Regions from separate parts of the Homo sapiens genome. Here region 2 is linked to region 1. The links are contacts of gene promoters, found by promoter capture Hi-C in human tissues and cell types (Jung and others, 2019). All regions are on one chromosome and are shown on one strand. Each heading gives the region's core, a stretch centred on a gene start or on the middle of the fragment in contact. The rest is flanking DNA. Distances are from core to core; before and after follow the strand shown. Region 1 holds the start of TDRD9 (tudor domain containing 9). Region 2 overlaps TDRD9 (tudor domain containing 9).

The links. Contacts are between HindIII fragments. The study calls those that stand out against the background at their distance.
Region 2: a contact is called between a fragment that was not itself captured here and the fragment with the promoter of TDRD9 in region 1, in 5 of the 25 tissues and cell types used here (H1 embryonic stem cells, heart left ventricle, lymphoblastoid cells and 2 more).

The regions. Positions count from the first base shown.
Region 1 is chr14:103,926,232-103,930,541 of GRCh38, reverse strand. It overlaps TDRD9 (tudor domain containing 9), which reads right to left and starts at 2,086. Exons shown (of 36, transcript NM_153046.3): 1 at 1,818-2,086. The coding sequence starts at 2,032. The HindIII fragment of the contact is 10,851 bases long and covers 1-4,310 here.
Region 2 is chr14:103,988,796-103,993,105 of GRCh38, reverse strand. It overlaps TDRD9 (tudor domain containing 9), which reads right to left. Exons shown (of 36, transcript NM_153046.3): 9 at 1,882-1,946. Among named protein-coding and RNA genes, the nearest start is that of RD3L, 48 kb to the right of the region's middle. The HindIII fragment of the contact is 6,052 bases long and covers 1-4,310 here.

The DNA of each region.
Region 1 (4,310 bases), core at 837-3,336:
GTCTGGGCCTATCCATCAAATCAGACAAGACTAACAAACAAGAGTAACTTTAAAAAAGAAAAATAAAGCCAGGCACGGTGACTCACACCTGGAATCCCAGCACTTTGGGAGGCCGACATGGGTGGACCACAAGGTCAGACCGACCTGGCCAACAAGGTGAAATGCTGTCTCTACTAAAAATACAAAATAAGCTGGGCGTGGTGGCACACGCCAGTAATCCCAGCTACTCGGGAGGCCAAGGCAGGAGAATCGCTTGAACCCAGGAGGCGGAGGTTTGTGGTGAGCCAACATTGCGCCACTGCACTCCAGCCTGGGCAACAAGAGCGAAACTATGTCTCAAAAAAAAAAAACCAAGAAAAAGAAAAACAAAACCACCTTCTCAACTGTAAAGCGTGCTGGACTTGGGGACTGAGCAAGAGTGACGGAGATACTCCAAGCTGGAAGTACTTCTCCCAGGGCCTTTTTAAAGAGCGAGAAGAGGGAGCAGGTGTTTCTACTCACCAAATCTACGTCTTTCCTCTAAAAACAGAGGATATACTCTTGCTTTTTATTTCCACCCAAATCAAGTGAACAGAGTAACTGATGGTAGCTACTTAAAGAATAGTGAGATGAGGAGGGAGTCTGTGAAACTTAACAAAGATTCAGCATTTGCACTCCTTGGTATTTACCCAATGAGTTGAAAACTTATGTCCACACAAAAACCTTGCCAAAACTTGGAAGCAGGCCGGGCGCAGTGGCTCACGCCTGTAATCCCAGCACTTTGGGAGGCTGAGGTGGGCAGATCACCTGAGGTCAGGAGTTCTAGACTAGCCTGGCCAACATGGTGAAACCCTGTCTCTATTAAAAATACAAAAATTAGCCAGGCGTGGTGGCATATGCCTGTAGCCTCAGCTACTCGGGAGGCTGAGGCAGGAGAATCGCTTGAACCTAGGAGGGGGAGATTGCAGTGAGGCGAGATGGCGCCACTCCACTCCAGCCTGGGTAACAAAGTGAGACTCCATCTCGGGGGGTGGGGGGAGAACTTGGAAGCAACCAAGCTCTCCTTCAGTAGGTGAATGGAGATAAACTGTGGTACATCCAGACAGTGGAATATTAATCAGTGCTAAAAGGAAAGAAGCTATCAAACCATGGAAAGGCATGGAGGAACCCCCAAATGCATACTAATACTAAGTGACAGAAACCCATCAAAAAGGCTACACATACTGTGTGATTCCAACTAGATGACAGTATGGAAAAGCAAAATTATGGAGACAGTAAAAAAATCAGTGGTTTCCACGTGGTGTAGGGAAAGGGAGGCAGGAACAGTGGGGCCGAGAAGATCTGTAGGTCAGTGAACTCTGTAATGCGTGACGTTAGGCGTTTGTCCAAACCCACAGAACGTCCAGTACGAGGCGTGAACCCTCCTGTAACGATGGCCTCCGGGTGACGAAGACGCAGCGATGCAGGTTCGCCGACTGTCACAAATACCCACACCTTACGCAGATGCTCACAGGGGAAACTCTGGGAGGGAAGGGGCCTATGGGACCTCTGCCCTCCGCTCCGTTATCCTGAAAACCTGAGTGCCTCAAAAACTAGTCTGTTAAACATTAAGAACTGAAAAAAAAAAAAAAAAAAAAACCTCTAGCTCAGCTTCCTTACAGGCACCGCTCTGGGCCGCGCGTCGGGTTGTGTAGTGACCACTCGCCCTGGACGGTCAGGGGTCCCTGGAGCCCCGCGAGAGGGCACGGGCTCGCGAGAAGGATCTGGATGGCCCGTGCCCTCGTCGCCAGGCCTCGCCCGGCCGCCCTCCAGCCGCCTCCGCCCCGCCCGCGTCCTACCTTTCGAACGCAGCGGCCGGCCGGGCCGGAGCTTGGGCCAGAGCCGGAGCCTGGGCCGCGGGACCAGCGCCGGGGGCCACGTCCTGGCGCTGCACCTCCTCCCTGGCCGCCCCTGCCGGGAAGGCGGGCGGCGCGCCCAGCAGCTCCACATTGGTCACCGTCTTGCCGATGGTGAACCAGTCGTTGATCTGCTCGATGGTGAGCTTCCGCAGCATCCTCAAGGCCCAGGCGTCGGCATCCCCCAACTGCCGGGTCTCCGCGGCGGGAACAGGCGACGGCGGAAGCGCACCCTGGAAGCCCCGCCCCCGCTCGAGGCCTTCCAATCAGAACGCGCCGCGCGCCCTTGTGGGCGGGCTCCGGCCCGGGCGCGTGCTGCCCGCGCTGCCTGGTCCTCGTGCCGCCGGCCCCGCCCCGCCGCGCTAGGCCTGCCGGGAGCCGCCGCCCCGAGCGAGCCCAGGGTGAGCCTTTCTAGGACCTCAGGGGAAGCTTGAGCGCCGCGGCTGGCCCGGGAGTCTGTTTCACGGGAGTTCCGTGGCAACCCCTGTGTGTACAAGAAAATGCCCTCCGGTCACTCCCTGGCCTCTCTATTTAGAGGCTGCTGCCTCGGAGGTTTGTGCGCTTTGAGCGGACCGGGACCCTACATACGTTTCTTGAGCACCTCAGGGTGAGGAGATGGAAGGCAAACCAGAGAAGGGATTTGCGTTCGTGGGTCAGACGTACCAGGACATCCTTGCACCTAATATGGGGGGAGAGGGGCAAGAAGAAGGTCAGGAAGGTCTCGGAGAAAGTAACGCCAGGCAGACCCCTGCAGGATACGGGGGAATGCGCCAGACGGAGGACCACCCAGGGTTATAGGGGAGGGCAGGCGGCCCTGATGGCTGAGGTGAGGATCTGGGAGAAGTTCTTTGCAGCCGGATCATAACTGAATTCATCTTCCTTCCTAAACCGGTGTCTCAGGCGGCGGTGTCAGACTCACAGCTGGACACAAACAGGTGCGGACAGGAGGTCCAGGCGATCACATGGACCAAAGATACAGGCTGAGGTGGTCCCGGCCGAGCTCTAGAAGAGTGAGGGTGGAGAACAGAGCCCTAGCAAACTCCCCAAAAGAAGGAGCCGCGGGAAGAAATCAACAAAGGATGCACGGGAAGGCAGCCACGTGTGCAAGGGAAGGGAGGGTCAGAAGAGAGACATGGCCACCTGCCTGGGGTGTGTCCCCCTCACTGGCCAGGGCAGGATCTATCTGGCCCATGTGGGCTCTCAGGAAAGAGCCATGTGAACAAATACAGAGACGGTATCGAGAGCATGGCTCTAATCAGCAGTGTAAAGCCCAAGCAGTGGCAAATAAGAGGGCGGTTTGAAAACACTGTAGACAGAAATCAGGCAGGTAGGTTGAGCTATTGGTGTCTCAAAAATTGAACCCATAATCATACTAAGCCAGGAGTTCTGGCTCCAAATCCTGGCATAATGAGCTCTAGACCTCATATTAGGACTCTGCCAAATACGACAGGTTCCCAAAAGTGCCTCAACACACTTTGCCAGGAAGAAATAACTTGCTTTTCTTTTTTCTTTTGAGGCAGGGTCTCACTCCTGTCGCTGAGGCTGGAGTGCCGTGCTGCAATCAGGGCTCACTGCAGCCTCAACTTCGGGGGCTCAGGTGATGCTCCCACCACAACCTCCTGCATAGCTGGAACTACAGGCTCACGCCACCACCACACCGGCTAATTTTTTATATTTTTAGTACAGACAGGGGTTTCGCTGTGTTGCCCAGGCCAGTCTCAAGCTCCTGGGCTCAAGCAATCTGTTTGGGAGCCCTTGGCCTCCCAAAGTGTTGAGACTACAAGCATGAACCACCATGCCCAGTCATGTTTTTCAAAAAATAAGAAAAAAGGTAATCATAAAGTAATTGAGACTCATGGTATGTCATTCAGCATTGATTGGAAAATATTGTAACTTCACACTGTATGTGGAGGCTAGGACATAATTCAAAATTTTACAAAATATATTGAAACCACTTGAAGCAACTCCAGAACTCACACTTGTTTTGTTTTGTTTTTTGTTGTTGTTTTGAGACGGAGTCTTGCTCTGTCACCAGGCTGGAGTGCAGTGGCGCGATAGCTCACTGCAACCTCTGCCTCCCAGGTTCAAGCAATTCTCCTGCCTCATCCTCCGGAGTAGCTGGGACTACAAGCATGCACCACCATGGCTGGCTAATTTTTTGTATTTTAGTAGAGACGGGGTTTCACCATGTTGGCTAGGAAGGTCTCAATCTCCTGACCTCATGATCCGCCCGCCTCGGCCTCCCAAAATGCTGGGATCATAGGCGTGAGCCACCGCGCCTGGCCTGTTTTTCTAGGATGTTGCTGTTACCGTGTGCTGTCATCCTTTGTTGATGTCACAATGAATACGATTTTAAGTGGAAGATGCTTTTCAAAAACATTTTCTGGGGGGCATTTTCTATATTCTTTGATCTTTTGGGCTACTAGCTAATCCTTC
Region 2 (4,310 bases), core at 1,028-3,527, 62 kb before region 1:
CCCAGCTACTTGGGAGGCTGAGGTGGAAATATCACTTCAGCCCAGAAGGTAGAGGCTGCAGTGATCGGGGTCACACCACTGTACTCCAGCCTGGGGAACACAGCAAGACCCTTTCTTAAAAAATAAATAAAATAGAGTATTTATCTCATGTTAGGTATTCTTTTTTTTTTTTTTTTTTTTTGAGATGGAGTCTCGCTCTTTCTCCCAGGCTGGAGTGCAGTGGCGTGATCTCGGCTCACTGCAAGCTCCGCCTCCCAGGTTCATGCCATTCTCCTGCCTCAGCCTTCCGAATAGCTGGGACCACAGGTGCCCGCCACCATGCCCGGCTAATTTTTTTTGTATTTTCAGTAAAGATGAGGTTTCACCATGTTAGCCAGGATGGTCTCGATCTCCTGACCTCGTGATCCACCCACCTCAGCCTCCCAAAGTGCTGGGATTCCAGGCATGAGCCCCCACGCCCGTCCGTGTTAGGTGTTCTTAAGCCTCGGCCTCCCAAAGTGCTGGGATTCCAGGCGTGAGCACTGTGCCCGGCCCATGTTAGGTGTTCTTAAGCCAGTATCAACATGGCTCTACTTGGGTGATGTTTTCCCCTTAATACAATATGATGCACACAGAAGTCATCTGATAAATATTCACCAAGGCACATGCAACACCACCCCACTGTCAGCTCATGGTTGTTCCCTGCATGTAAACAAATCCTTATCAGCTAAGCAAAACATGACAAAAGTTTGAAACTCATATGTTGCATTCCAAAATTAAGTAAGCTACTTTCATTGCATGTTTTTCATTCTCCATTATTTTAAGAACAAATCTGTTTATGCTCTATATATTACAACAGAAAATATTTGAATTATTGTCATAATGTTTCATCAAGCTATACCACTTGAATTAAACATCAAGTAATTTTGAAAAAGTACAATTTAACATAAATTCATCTTTTCAGAAAGGTATTTTAAAAGTCTGTTTTCTCAAACACTGAGAAGGGAACTCAAGGATTACCCTGATGATTCTCACGGTGTTATAATAACAGTGTGTTTTACTATTACTAAATAAGCTTTCAATGCAAACTGATGACAGTTACCTCACATTTATAACGACATATGTAAAATGCAAATTTCACAAAGCCAAATATTTTACTGGAAATTTCGAAGGTGGCAAAACTGCCTTCAAAAAGCTGAACTCTAGACAAGCATGGTGGCGCGTGTCTGTAATCCCAGCTACTTCGGAGGCTTAGGCAGGAGAATCACTTGAACCCAGGAGGCAGAGGTTGCAGTGAGCTAAGATTTTGCCACTGTACCCCTGCCTGGGCAACAGAGTGAGACTCTGTCTCCAAAAAAAAAAAAAAATTGAACTCTTAATTATTAATAAGAAATCTTTTTTAGAAATACAAGGGTTGGCCGGGCACAGTGGCTCACATCTGTAATTCCAGCACTTTGGGAGGCCACAGCGGGCAGATCACAAGGTCAAGAGATCGAGACCATCCTGGCCAACATGGTGAAAGCTCATCTCTACTAAAAATACAAAAATAAGCCGGGCGTGGTGGCGTGCACCTGTAGTCCCAGCTACTCGGGAAGCTGAGGCAGGAGAATCACTGGAACCGGGGAGGCAGAGGTTGCAGTGAGCCAAGATCGTGCCACTGCACTCCAGCCTAGCAACAGAGCAAGACTCCATCTAGAAAAAGGAAAAGGAAAAGGAAAAAAAAAAGAAATGCAAGGGTTACAATAAAAAGCCAAACTGAAAGTTACATTTGTTCACATACTCAAAGTGTAAAAAGAATAAAGTCCTATGGAGAATACCATCTTTCATAATCTGTGTTAGGCACAAACTTAGCCTCTCTCCAGAGTATTATGATTCCAAGTCACAAAATTATGATGTTCTTACCTGGCAAAAACACCAACACACTGCTTCGCTCCAACACAAACTGGGCCCCCGACCAAGCCTTGTTCCTGTTAAAAATGTGATGTGCACAAATATTAATGAAGGCTAATAACAGCTATTGCTTCTCTAAAATCCTAATATTACAGGCTTTTAATCCTGAAAGGCTCTTACAGGTCATCCAATGTAATGTTCCTTATTTTACATAAGAAAACACGAAGCCCAAAAAGATGAGAAAACATCCAAGGCCCCATGGTCATTCAGGGGACTTAAGCCTTTTGACTCCCAATACTTTCTCCTATCAAAACTTACTATCTGCAGAAGTTTTCCTTGAAATTTAGTTATTGTAATCAAGAACTTCAAAGTAAAAAACATTTAAAATAACTACAAGCAAAATTTAAATGTTCATGAGTCCAAACTATTAGAAAGGATTTGTACAGACCAAAATCTCAAATCATCTACTTGCCTCCTTGCTATTGTCAATATATTTACTTTTGTGTGAATTTAGAACTTTCATTCTTCCATGAACCTGTGAGCCCTTCCTACATGCCAGGCCCTCCTCTGTGTAAGATACAGCAGTAACAAGAAGACAAGCTCCTTGCTCTTTGGAGCTTACATTCTAACTGGAGAGACAGACAGGAAACAAGAAAACAGACAAGGCACCTTCAATTTAGCAATAAGACCTAAAGAGACACACAGGGAAACACAGTAAGCAGTGCTAAGGGAGGTGCATGTATGGAGTGCTCTCAGGAGGGCTGGCTGGGAAGGGCCTCTCTGGGGAAGTAATGGGAGGTGAGGAGGGAGCCATGGAAAAGCCATGCAGTGGCAATCCAGGCAATGCCTGGGAACAGTCACTACAAAGGAGAAAGGGGTGTGAGGGGTAAACCAGTCACTGCAGCACAGGCAGCTCAGCATCCATGGTCACTGCTCCTGCTGCTCCTCCATCTCTCCCTATGAGGGTGAGCCACACCTATGACCTCAGGCGGCAGCCACTACCATGAAAAACACAGCCTTGGTTTGTAGATGGGCCTGCATGGGATGCTGGCAACAACCAGGGGCGAACATCTGCTGCATCACAGCCCCACCCAGAGGAGAGGCTCACACACAGTGAGTGGGGAAGGGAGCTCTTCCCAGTTAGCAGAGGTGAGGCCGTCCATCTGGTGGTACCGCTTTGGGTGGAAGGAGACATGGCCATGAGGTTGGGTTCACCCCAATCAATAGGCAGAGGCTAATAGCTTGGTCAGCTGGTCAGGGATGTGGAAATGGCAAGACTGATAATAAGGAGATCTGATGGAGAGGTACCAAGAAATGCCCATAAGGCAGCCACAGTGGAGAAGGCTTTCAGTCACCAGACGGGCAAGAGGCCCTGCCTGTGGACGTGACCCAGCCTCCTTCTCCAGTCCCTCCAGGGTTGGAAAACGCACAGAGTGGACAGGTAGCAGGGATGAAGGCTTACACACAAACTCAACACCATGCACTTTCCTGAGATGAGACTCATCCGGCTGCTACCACTGCTGGATGCCAACCACACAACAGCAAGGGCCAGTGCCAAGTCCCAAATATGGCACCATTCCCTGGGGGACCAGCCCAGCCAGCTGATGACAGGTTGATTCCATCATGAAAAAGATACTGATTTGCCCTCATGGAAATAGATACAGATCCTATTCTGGATTCAGGTCTGCCTTCTCTGCACCTAAAGCTCCTGTCATACCCCCATCCATGGACCTAAAGATGCCTTTCTCGCTTCCATTATTTCCTGCACAGCATGGCCTCCTGCCAAGGAGCTCAGTTTAGTAGTCAATGGACTCATGAAATTCAATGGTATTACCATGCATCCAAAAGCAGGTGGCTTAAAAGAAAGATGAAAATGCCTATTAAAGGCTCAATTATTGTCCCAGTCCTACAGGAAGTCATAAAAGCCATAATGAAATTCAAAGACAAGGTGAAATCTTGCAAGCAGCAAGAGGATAATGACATGCCACATGCAAAGAAAACCCCAGTAAGATTAACAGCTGAATTCTCAGAAGAAACAATGGAAGCCAGAAAGCAGTGGGATGACATATTCAAAGTGCTCAAAGAGAAAACAACTGTCGATCAAGATTCCTGTATTCAGTAAAACTCTCAATAATGAAGACTAAATAAAGACTGTCCCAGATAAAAAAATGAGAGTATCTAGCAGACCCACCTTACTAGAAATACTAAAGGAAGTTTTTTTGTGCTGAAAACAGCCGACCCCAGAGAGTATTTCAAATCCACATGAACAAAGAAAGAGAACTGGTAAAGGTAATTAGTTAATAACAAAAGATACTGTAAATACATATTTTGCCTCCTTCCTTCTTAGGTGATTTTAAAAGTAACCGGATACAAAAATCAGCAGGGTGTGGTGGCACGCACCTCTAAGTCCCAGCTACTCACAAGGCTGAGGTGGGAGGATC